Linked DNA regions of Homo sapiens: all the other regions are linked to region 3. The links are contacts of gene promoters, found by promoter capture Hi-C in human tissues and cell types (Jung and others, 2019). All regions are on one chromosome and are shown on one strand. Each heading gives the region's core, a stretch centred on a gene start or on the middle of the fragment in contact. The rest is flanking DNA. Distances are from core to core; before and after follow the strand shown. Region 1 overlaps CCDC92 (coiled-coil domain containing 92). Region 2 overlaps EIF2B1 (eukaryotic translation initiation factor 2B subunit alpha). Region 3 holds the start of DNAH10 (dynein axonemal heavy chain 10).

Region 1 (4,004 bases), core at 275-2,774, 200 kb before region 3:
GAAAGGCACTGCTAGTGTTTCTGCCTCGGTGGCTAGTAGCGTGGGAGAGCAGATACACTTTTTAAAAATAGCCAAATCTTGCACATTGATAAGAAAGATGGAGAAAGGTTGGAGTTTTTCGCTCAGTTTTGTGTTCCCATAGATAAGAACATAGCAGAAGTTATTAGGTTTGGCCTGTCATTTTCAAGGAAGGTCAGTATCTGATACTGAGTCATCTTTATCTTCTGGTTGAGTCCCTATGACAAGACCAGAACGTTCTAGTAGAATAGAGCAGCAGCTTTCTGGCATTAAGGTACTTGCTCATTGACATGCCCTATTGCTCTCGGGGGAGGAAGGATGTGTAATCCTCCTCAGCCTCTGCAATGTGATTTCAAGTGAGGAATTGCTTTCCATCAATAAAGCGGTCAAGTCAGTTTTTGACAAGTTTATTAGTACAGTAAGACTGTGGTATCAGGACCCAGTTCAGAGGTGAACAAAGCCAAACCATATTGTTTGAGGGCAAAGGCAGGTTTTTAGGGGAGAGACAAAATAAATATCCAAGTAGAAACAAAGCTAGACTTGAGACCTTGGAGATAGGTTGACAGCTGTCTATTTGGAGGTTCTTGTGTCTCATCCCTTTTTGCAGGATGGAACTCAGAGCTTTGGATGACGACTGGCTAATTCTAGAACACTGCACTGAATGTTACTCATTAGCAGGCTGTGGTTAGAGCAGAGTGCCTTTCCAAGTAGTCTCAGGATGCCAGCGGGACCTGCCTGTGCAGTGACCATCTTGAGTCTGAAATTTAAGTGGAAAGCAGCAAATTAGCCATTCCTGTGTTTAGAGGAAAACTGAGTTTAGTTAGAAGGTGTGAAGTCGTTGGGGCCAGCATGTTCCTACTGAAGAAACTGGGAATCCTCGGCAGGTTAGTAGCAAGCAGAACTTTAGAGTCCCTTGAAGGAAGGTTGAAGTGATGTTTGGACTGCTGAACTGCAGAGTGAACCTGGGAATGAGATGCACTGACACCCTCATCAGTGCTTTCCATCAGTGTGCAAGACTTAGCTATTTCTCAAAAGAACACAGCTTCCTCTCACATGGAATGTCCTACCATTGGGGATGTAACCAGAAGCCTCTGAAGCCTACTCAGTTTTTTAGGTGAAGATCCCAGATTTTTGTTTGTCACAACTCTCATGGTTACATTTATAGGTAGGGAATCCAGCCACTTCAGTCCAGTTTCTGAAAATTCCTGGCTAGGTTATTTTTCAGAGTTCCATTTGGACATTTTACCACCTCTTCTGATTGTGGACAAGACAGTGAAGGCATTGATGAATGTGTAGGGCTTTACAGCTTTATTTACAATCCAATCTGGAAATGATGGACTCCTGTTACAAATAGACACACTTAATGTACCAAATCTGGAAATAAAATATTTCAGAAGTCTTTTTGACAGTCATTGTGTTAGCCTTTGCATGCATCTTCTATACCCAGTGAAATTACTAAAGCATTCACATGAAAACCCATTTTTTCTCATTTGAATAAAACTAATGTGAATATGCTTATAAATGCCTGCCTCCCACCCTACAGCCCCATCCGTAGATAAGCTGCTCTCGTTGTCTTTATGGCTACTTCCCACAACATGAATGGACGGGTCAAACAACTCACACAGTGCTGATGAGCTACACTGGTAAATTTGGAGCATGCCACCCACATATGATTTTCCCTGGCATCCCTTCTTGTTGGTGTGTACCAGGCCATGGGACACTGGAGCAAGATGAAGGCACTTTGGAGCTACCAAGAGGCTCTCTGAAACCCTGACAGTCTTTAGAGTCCCTTCTACGATGTGGGGCCTGATCTAGGACAGGGACAGTGTGGGAAAGAGCCACCATAAGGGACTGTTCAGTCTGAGAAAGATGACTGACCATAGATAACCTTGACCGTGTTATTCACCAAAGGAAGTATATTTCCAAAACAGCCCAACATGGGTTACATGAGGGCCGTGAGAAATGTAAGCTCCTCCAAGAGCGTGCAGCCCTCACTGTTTTCACAATTGTCCATAGTCAAGACAGGAAAAAGTGAGAAAGAAAAGCAGGACTTCATACTCCAGTGAGAGCGATAAACTTTGACTTCTGGACAGAATATACAGAGGTCAAGATGAATCAAGATTCCTCTTTATTGAGAAGAGATTGCATCCCAAAGATCAATTTGCTTTTCTGTGAGTGGTTAGTCTTGTCTCCTCAGTTATACACAAGTGTTTATTGATAGACCTCACTATATCTCGATGCACACGTACAAGCACACACGTCATTCCAAACAGTATATTTAACTGGCAATATATTTAGCGATTTAAAATTGTAGTTTTCAAATGTTATCAAACATATCAGGTGTCCTAATACGTCAATTGATTTTACCATCATAATTTGAGCTTTAAGAACAAGTATTTAAAAAAAAGACCCAGTATTCAAAAAAAGACCCAGCAGCTCATCCGTGGGGATTGTCAGGTGACGAGATGTTTTTTCCATTTGAATTTTAATTTCTTTATCAGTTTTTAGGTAAATATAAATTATTAACTAATTGCCTCACTATTCTGCTGGTACAAAGGGAATTAGGAACTTTAGAAAACAAAATTTACATTAAAAAATAATGCAATTGTTATTTAAAATTGGCAGAAATGTGATATCTTGAAACATTATTCAGCTAATGGAAGTAGAGTGACTCTTGGTTGTCATAATATTGTCTGGAATTTTTAAAAAGCAATTTATAAAGATACTAGTTTCTTAAATTACAGCTCCCTGTAATTTGTATACTCAGGTTTAGATTCACCTACTCTGAAATCATGGTGGTAGGTAGTCATTGAGCTGTTCTGTAAGGCAAGTGTCAAGAATTTAGGAAGTTCCATTTAATTTAGCCTTTGTGAAAAAATTCTACTTTTTGTATGAATTGTGTGCCCCACCCCCACTCCCAAATATTAGCTCCACAAAGGCAGAATTTTTATCTCTTCTATTTGTTGGTGTGTTCTGAGTGTCCTCCACAGTGTCTGGCTCAAAGCTGCTTAAAGATGCTTCCTTTATGGAAAGAATGAACTGTAATAATTTATATCACCCCCCCATATAGAAGACATAACCTTCTCTTATACCCCCAAATTCACAAAAATAGATATGAAAGGATTTTCTTTAAAAGTACTAAGAACTTGAATAATTTATGTAGTCTTCTGTGTTATATTGGAATAGCCTCCTTGTTGTTAATACAGACACTTTTTTTAAAAAAAAGATAAATAACTTTTCAGTTTGTACCTGTTACGTTTAAACTTTATTTTTAAACTGCTTTTATAACCTGAGCAATTGTTTTTATTTTGGGAGAGACCTTTTCCAAGTAGAAAACCATTTTAAGATTTACCAGCGCAGCACTAATTACTTCAATTTCTGTAGTATATTTCTGCAAATTACAAAGTTCAAATTATGGCTCTTGTAAACAGGGTTTCCTGGTGACCATGGAACCTGTACTTTCATTTCTCCCGCCTGGAAAGCTTTCTTAAAGTGCTAGTATATATAAAATATTAGGAGTTTTGACATGATTTCATAAATTTATTGGGAGTCTAAAATTCTTGTAAAGTTTACGTATTTAGTGAAGTCCTTAAAAACAAAGCTCTTTGCATTGAAGAAATATTAAAGCCTTTAAACATCAAAGTTTCCTGGAGATTTCCTGCCTGCATTAGATAGAGTACTCCTGTGGAAACTGCACACCTAGCTCAGCTGCAATGTGTCCACTTAATTTCTGTGGAAATACGCAGCTTTATAACCATAACACTGGAGTCCCTATTGCATTCCAGATTTATCTTGCACTCACCCTCTTCACTTCTCAGGTCACTTTAGCGTTCATAGAAGAAAAGCAAAATCTCACATTATCAAGAAACAGGAAGAAAATTACTACATTCTTAGGCAATTTGGAGTTTATTTGCAATCCTTTTTCTTCCAAGCAAAAGAAAGCAAGGAAATGCTGATCCAGTGTTCCAGTCATTTTAGCTAAACAG
Region 2 (3,733 bases), core at 103-2,602, 140 kb after region 3:
TATTTACATATAAAGTATGTATGTATAAAATACGTGTATTTATATATAAATATTATATATATTTTAAAATAGAGACACATTCACTCTGTTGCCCAGGCTGTAGTGTAGTACAGTGATCATAGCTTACTGCAGTCTTGAACTCCTAGCCTGAAGCAATCTTTCCACTTCCCAAAGTGCTAGGATTACAGGCATGAGCCACTGTGGCCGGCCTGTCATTTGTTTTCATTTTAATTGAGCACATTTGACCTCAATTTATTACAATCTCTCTCTCCATTATTTAATTTAGAAAAGCTTCATGAAAGCTTTTTTTAGTTAAAATATATGTAACATAAGGCCGGGCGTAGTAGCTCACGCCTATAATCCCAGCACTTTGGGAGGCTGAGGCAGGTAGATCATCTGAGGTCAGGAGTTCGAGACCAGCCTGGCCAACATGGTGAAACCCCATATCTACTAAAAATACAAAAAATTAGCTGGGCATGGTGGCGGGTGCCTGTAATCCCAGCTACTTGGCAGGCTGACGCAGGAGAATCGCTTGAACCTGGGAGGCGGAGGTCTGCAGGCAGAGTGTTGAGTCACATGGTAACTATATATTTAACTTTCAGAAACTAATGATTTTCCACAGCAGCTGCACTACTTTACATTCCCACTAGCAAAGCACAAAGGTTCCAATTTCTCTACATCCTTGCCAACACTTGTTTTTTTAAATTTTTTTATTTTTTGAGATGGAGTTTCACTCTTGCTGTCCAGGCTGGAGTGCAATGGCACAGTCTTGGCTCACTGCAACCTCCAGTGCCCGGGTTCAAGCGAGTCTCCTGCTTCAGCCTCCCTAGTAGCTGGGATTACAGGCACCCCCCATCCCACCATGCCCAGCTAATTTTTTGTATTTTTAGTAGAGATGGGGTTTCCCTATATTGGCCAGCTGGTCTCAAACTCCTGACCTCAGGTGATCCACCCACCTCGGCCTCCCAAAGTGCTGGGATTACAGGCGTGAGCCACCACATCCAGCCTCTAGTGGCTGTTTCTATATCCTTTGAGAAACATTTATTTTTTTGATTCCAAAGTCAGAATTAGATATATCTAATATATGTATTAGATATATGTATATCTATATTATATACATAACTTTCTATTGCTGTTTTTTAATTGTTCCTTTATTGTAATTGAGACGAGGTCTCACCGTGTTGCCTAGGCTGGTCCCAAACTCATGGGTTCAGGTGATCCACCCACCTCGGCCTCCCAAAATGCTGGAATACAGGCATGCACCACTGTGCCCGGCCCGCTTTTCTGTGGCTTCTACTTCAGATGCACTCTAGAGCTCATCCATTCCATTTTCTGCCTTCCCAGATTGGAACCAACCAGATGGCTGTGTGTGCCAAAGCACAGAACAAACCTTTCTATGTGGTTGCAGAAAGTTTCAAGTTTGTCCGGCTCTTTCCACTAAACCAGCAAGACGTCCCAGATAAGTTTAAGGCAAGAGTTTTACATATTTGAAGGGGTACTAAAGTCTAAACAGAAACCTTTGGAAATTGTAGTCCTAAGAATGTTCCAGTAATTTTTTCACTTCCTATTGCTACTTTCCCCAACACTTGGAATACAAAGATAAATTGGTGATTGGACTCACACATTTGTCCCTAGAACTTCAGTCTTTCAGTCTCTTTAAGTAGCACCATAGATGGGTGGAGAGGAAGCCCGAAGCTGGTGGGTAAGTCCCAGCTTTGGGCTTAACTGAGCTCAGCTCCCATCACCACAACTTACAAACTGTGCGAGTTGAGGCAAGTCCTTTCATTTCAACCTCTGAACCGGTTTTCTTGTCTGTAAAATGGCATAGCAGTATCTGACAGGGTCATGAGGATTCTAAGATAATCTTAGCACAGTCCCTGGCACGCTGCAAGCTCTCTATTGTGACTCTCGATCTTCCCTTGAGAGGTCTGGAGAAGTTAATCCGGCATGAGAATGAGGGGACATGGGATTTAAGTTTGTTACACTACAGCTCTCAGCCAGCACACTGCCATGATCTGGCTCATGGCCACAACTCTGCCCTCGTCTCTAGTGTCCTGCATAGCTTAGTTTCTCCCATTTTCAGAGAGCAGTCTCAGGAAGTAGCACACTGATCACTCACACCAAGGCCCTACCAGGTCAGAGCACTAAATATTCAGTGCCGACTAATGTGTACTTCTCTCCTCAGTATAAGGCAGACACTCTCAAGGTCGCGCAGACTGGACAAGACCTCAAAGAGGAGCATCCGTGGGTCGACTACACTGCCCCTTCCTTAATCACTCTGCTGTTTACAGACCTGGGCGTGCTGACACCCTCAGCAGTCAGCGATGAGCTCATCAAGCTCTATCTGTAACCTGTGAGCCCTTTCCTGCCAAGGTGCAGCTTACGTAGTTGAGGCAGGGTGAGTAGCTGCTTGACACCCCAGTGAGTCAGGCCAAAACTGAGATGTGTTTAATGAAGATTTATGGAGTAAGGACTTAAAATCATACATCTTGGAGAACCTTTCTTACTCATTTCAGTCCCATCTAAAAATGTGTCAGCTATTCTAAATCCCAACTTAAATTGTTCTTACGGTTTCTAGAAACTTTCCTTTTCAGTTTCCAGAAATACAAGTTAGATAATTGGCTACTTAACTGATGAAAGATGAGCCCAAGTCCACCTGTCTTCATCCTCCCCTGCACTCCAGACTGATCTGCCTAAAGCACGCGAGATGCAGGCGAAAAGCAGCCACACCCCTCTGCCACAAATGACCAACAGCTGGTCAGGACGTTACACGCGGTGCCTTGTAAGAGGCAAGAAACACTTGCTGAATCTGCATCTGGCTTCCAGTGGTAAGCACATTCCTCAGCAGGATCAAGCCAAACAGTAAAAACTACCAAGAGAACACGAGGAAGGCAGAAACGATGTTTAGCAACAGTATTCTGCATGGTTCACTGCTTAAGAAAATGCCTTCTGGAATATTTGTAAACTGAAATTCTGTATGTGTAAGAGATGTTTAAATATGTTTGGGTCCTAAACAGCTTTTTAAAATTATACTTGGGAATAAATTCAGCATCTTTTCAAATAAACTCTATGAAAGACGCTGATGTGGTGTTGCATCAATACTGCAAGCTGACCAGGCCATCTAGGGGAAAACACTGTCCAGCTACATTTACACACTTAAGACCCAGGCAATCAGGACACCATTTATTCAACAGGAGGCATAAAAACTATAATTCTCTTTCCCGGAATATGACTTAATCCCTCTGTTTTTCAGCTATTCACCAATAAAACAATACTGTGACTATTAACACAGAAAAACCCCAGCACATTAGCCACCCCTGCAGGACATCAAAGGATAACTGAAGCCCAGGGCCAAGCACATTCAGGAGGTCAAATGCCTGAAGATACTGAGGAATGGTTTTGAAAATCAGAAGTCAAGAAGACTTCTGTATCTTTATGTTTAAAAATAACTATAAAATAGCCTCAGAAAAAAGAGCTTATATATATATATATATATATATATATATATATATATATATATATATAATATGTACATATGTCTATATGTGACCCATCATGATAAATACTGACATCTATTATTTACACTCAAATAATTTTACATTTTCTTCTGTTAGACTACTCCAAGACTGGAATTGTTTTGTTTTGTTGTTTTTAATGAGAGGGTCTCGCTGTGTTCCCAGGCTGGTCTTGAACTCCTGGGCTCAAGTGATCCTCCTGCCTCAGCCTCCCAAAG
Region 3 (3,817 bases), core at 89-2,588:
TGAGTCAAGATCGCACCACTGCACTCCAGCCTGGGTGACAAAGTGAGACCCTATCTCAAAAAAAAAAAAAAAAAAGTTAAAAAATAGAATACAATAAATGAATCTGCCTGGTACCTTTAAAAAAAAAATCAAAGGTCTGCCGGCCCTGCCACCCGAACCCAGTGAGAGGCCCTGCAAGGGATCCCCAAGTCCTTAAGGGGCTGGAAAAGTAGCCCAGGAGACTGGACAGCCAGGCAGGAGGTCCCGGTAGCTGTGCTCCAGCTGGTGCTCCTGCGAGGAGGCGGCTTTCGAGGTCCCAGTCTCCTTCTAGCTGTTTCTGAAGCGAGTTGTCCTGCCTCCTCCTCTCACCTGTGCTGGCCCCTCCCTGCCCTCTCAGTGTCCCTGGCCTATCAGAGAGTAGGTGGGGCTGGGGATCCGCCTCCACAGAGGGTTCTGGGACCCTGGTCACTGTCTTTTTGTATTTGCGATGCTAATTTGTTCAACATAAACATTTAAAGTCTACTGTAGTTTTTAAACTTTGTCCTAGCCTTATTTTACTTTTTAGGATATAAGGAGCCTCCAGAAGTAGAAAGGGGTGCTCTTCGGACCCTCCGTGAGAGGCTGCGACCGTCAAGGAGAGTGACAGTGACCTGGGTCCCTGCCACACCTGGGCATGGCTCTACCCAGCCGTTCGGATTATTGCACAGTGGATCTTGACGCCCCGTGGGCCTTGGGCAGGTTACTTAACCCCCTCCGTGCCAGTTTGCTCATCTGTAAAATAGGGATGAGGATACACCCGCCTCGTAGGGTTAAGGAGTTGATACAAGCGTTGGAACCGCACCTGGCACGGGGTGCGGGCTAAGTCAGTGTTTGCTGTGATTTTTCAATCAAGGCCTGACTTTCAAGTGGGCTGTGGGCCCAGGAGGGCAGGGACGGCTGTGATTGCTGGGTTCGCCCGGGGCCTGCACGTGGCGGGCGGCAGCGTTTGTGGACAGCACCTGAGGCCGGGGCCGGACGATGGGCAGGCTCTAGCAGCCCCGGCGCCCGCCGGAGAGGCCGGGACGGGCAGGAGGGAAGCCCGGGGAAGGGAGCGGCGCGTCGAGGCTCACCAATCTCCACCTCCACCTCCTCCGGCACCATAGTGCGGTAGATGAAGAGCGCCGAGGGCCCCTCCTCCTCGCTCGCCTGGTTGAGGAAGTGCAAGATGAGGTCCTCGCCCTGGCCGTCGTCGCGGTTGAGCAGGTCCTCGAAAAGCTGGGGGTCGGTGATGCCGAAAGCCGCATACACGCGGTCGCGCATCCACAGCACCCGCAGGTCGTCCATGGCGCCGCGCAGTGCAGAGGGAGCCGGGCGCAGGGCGGGCGTCCGTGGCAACGGCGGCCCTAGCAATGGGCGCCCCGGAAACGGCCGCAGCTCGCCCCGCCGACGGCGCCGGCGCTGGGGGCTGCAAGCTCGGCAGTGCCCCGCGCCCGGCCCCTCGATCCCGAACCCGCGAGCCGCAGCCCACGCCCCGGCCCCGGGATCTCGGAGGCGCGCACCAGGCCCCCGGGCCGCCGAGGTAGGCTGGTTGCTCCCTGGCCCCGGCAGCGCGCACGCCCCTGGATGCGGAGCGGGACCCTCGCCGCCAGGAGCCGCCCTCGGGCCGCTGCAGCCGAGGGTGCGACCCCACCCCACGCCGACCGGTTTGCAAGCAGCCCGCCCACCTTGCAGATGAAGCTGGGGCTAGAGAGTTGGCGAGACGAAGGTCACAGCACCTCGGCGGTGGCAGAGGCGGGATTAGAGGCCAGACGAGGAGGAAATAAGCCGAGAAAGCACGAGTTCCTCATGGCCTACAAAATCAGGGAAGGAGCAGAGTTCTTTAGCTTTCTTGCCAAACTAGAGCATAATAAAGCAAAACACCCACGTTTAAAAATATAGATATATTTATTTGTCATTAGCAAAAGGAAGTTAAATACTGATAGAAGATGCAAATTTGTCCTTTCATGCATTTGTGGAGCAAAGTACTAACTTGTTCACTGTCATTTCCCCTCACAAGGAGTTGAGCCCCTAGATGACTCAGGCTAACCCTAAGAACCTACCTAGCCTTCTTAGATATTCCCATCAAAGAACAGGTGGAGTGTACTAAGTATTTCTGAAAATTCTAAACCAAATCAGCAAAAATGGCCTGACTGTGGGAAGACTGTTCGTTCAAACTGCCTTATTCCCATCATCTTGATTTGACAGCTTCATAATAACCTTCCTGGATATATTCCCTGTGGCACGCAAGCAAACCCGGCTTTACGTTTTTAATAGAGGAATTTATTGTTTTAAATGCGGACTGTAGAATAGGTGTAGAAGTTGTTTTTCTTTTCCAAAATGTATCAGGCTCTAAAACGTCTGAATATGTAATTCATGGACATCGTAAGGCTGACCTATGCTACAGGTATTCTGTGCCTTATTAAACAACTGCAGAGGGCCAGGCGCGGTGGCTCACGCCTGTAATCCCAGCACTTTGGGAGGCCAAGGTGGGTAGATCACCTGAGGTCAGGAGTTTGAGACCAGCCTGGCCAACATGGTGAAACCCTGTCTCTACTAAAAATACAAAAATTAGCCGGGCACTGTGGCAGGCGCCTGTAATCCCAGCTACTCGGGAGGCTAGGGCAGGAGAATTGCTTAAACCCAGGAGGCAGAGGTTGCAGTGAGCCGAGACTGCACCACTGCACTTCAGCCTAGGTGACAGAGTGAGACACTGTCTCAAAAAAAATAAAAAAATTTTTAAATAAACAACTGCTGAGGGGATGCTGACACCAGAATGTTGTTATAAAATATCCATTCCAGAAACAGAGCAGCATTCAGCGAAAGAGGAGTTCCAAGTCCTTTCGCTGCTGGAAAGTCCGCAGGGCTCACCCAGATCCTATCAGACAGAACACCCTTTGCACTCCTTAACTGACCACGGCAATTACAGTCTCCAGCCCAGCAGGTTGAATCAAAGTCTAGTTTACTGAAGAAATCCCTTGGGTTTTAAGATTCTGTTAACACATGGTAATAAACATCTAAATAAAAACTGAGAAATGTCGTGTCGTGACATTTATCTTTAGGAAAATAAACATATTCAGTATCATCCACACAACTTGCCATCTGTGCTCTGGATCTCTGCTATCAAGGGAATGAAGTATGTTTTAAAAACTGGATACATAATAGGTTCTAGCAAAAGCCTTAACAAACAAAACTGAGCGATAACTCTGGTAACATGACACTGGAGCCCATCGCTTTATAGAGAAACAAATTCCCGTGGCCCCTATAAGACACTATTATCAAACTACATTTCCAGAGAGCGCTTTCCCAGAGTTAGGATTCTGAATTCGCTTTTCATATAATGACATTCTACATAAATACTACATAGATTTCAACAGAGAAATGACTGCATCCTCTGCTCTATGCTGAGAAGAGGTGTTAATTAGAAAGAGTTAAAAAAGTGGCCCCATGAGAATTACTAGTGGGGAGCAGTAAACAATTCCCGTGAATATCGTGTCCCTTATTTACCAATCAGCTAACAGTGCCCTGAAGTCTTGGGCTTCCTAGGGATGAAGTAGTTACCATTGTTTTTATGACAGACCCCTGGAGCAAAGTAACACAAATGTCCCCTTGTGGAAGCATCAGCTCTAGGTGAAAGCAACTCTGAGACCTGACCAGCACTGCTGGGATGTCATAGTCACCCAACACAAGTGCCCGACATGACACCTTTCTAGGGAAGCATAACTTTGAGAGCAGAATCATTTTCAAGCATTTCATCGGCATCATTTGATAATTTAATATGAGGGACAAAAAGCAGTAAGTCCAAACTGGCCTTGGGTAACAT

What was found. Contacts are between HindIII fragments. The study calls those that stand out against the background at their distance.
Region 1: a fragment that was not itself captured here is called in contact with the fragment with the promoter of DNAH10 in region 3 in 1 of the 25 tissues and cell types used here (H1 embryonic stem cells).
Region 2: a fragment that was not itself captured here is called in contact with the fragment with the promoter of DNAH10 in region 3 in 2 of the 25 tissues and cell types used here (H1 embryonic stem cells and lymphoblastoid cells).

What each region holds. Positions count from the first base shown.
Region 1 is chr12:123,963,489-123,967,492 of GRCh38, reverse strand. The region is part of intron 1 of CCDC92 (coiled-coil domain containing 92); the gene reads left to right. Among named protein-coding and RNA genes, the nearest start is that of CCDC92, 7.3 kb to the left of the region's middle. The HindIII fragment of the contact is 5,683 bases long and covers 1-4,004 here.
Region 2 is chr12:123,620,373-123,624,105 of GRCh38, reverse strand. EIF2B1 (eukaryotic translation initiation factor 2B subunit alpha) reads left to right here. Exons shown (of 9, transcript NM_001414.4): 8 at 1,345-1,470; 9 at 2,186-3,700. The coding sequence ends at 2,350. It overlaps DDX55 (DEAD-box helicase 55), which reads right to left. Exons shown (of 14, transcript NM_020936.3): 14 at 3,163-3,733. Among named protein-coding and RNA genes, the nearest start is that of SNORA9B, 5.5 kb to the right of the region's middle. RefSeq lists an enhancer at 1,530-2,729. The HindIII fragment of the contact is 7,939 bases long and covers 1-3,733 here.
Region 3 is chr12:123,759,822-123,763,638 of GRCh38, reverse strand. It overlaps DNAH10 (dynein axonemal heavy chain 10), which reads right to left and starts at 1,338. Exons shown (of 79, transcript NM_001372106.1): 1 at 1,089-1,338. The coding sequence starts at 1,302. ATP6V0A2 (ATPase H+ transporting V0 subunit a2) reads right to left here. Exons shown (of 20, transcript NM_012463.4): 20 at 1,884-3,817. RefSeq lists a silencer at 1,338-1,757. The HindIII fragment of the contact is 16,796 bases long and covers 1-3,817 here.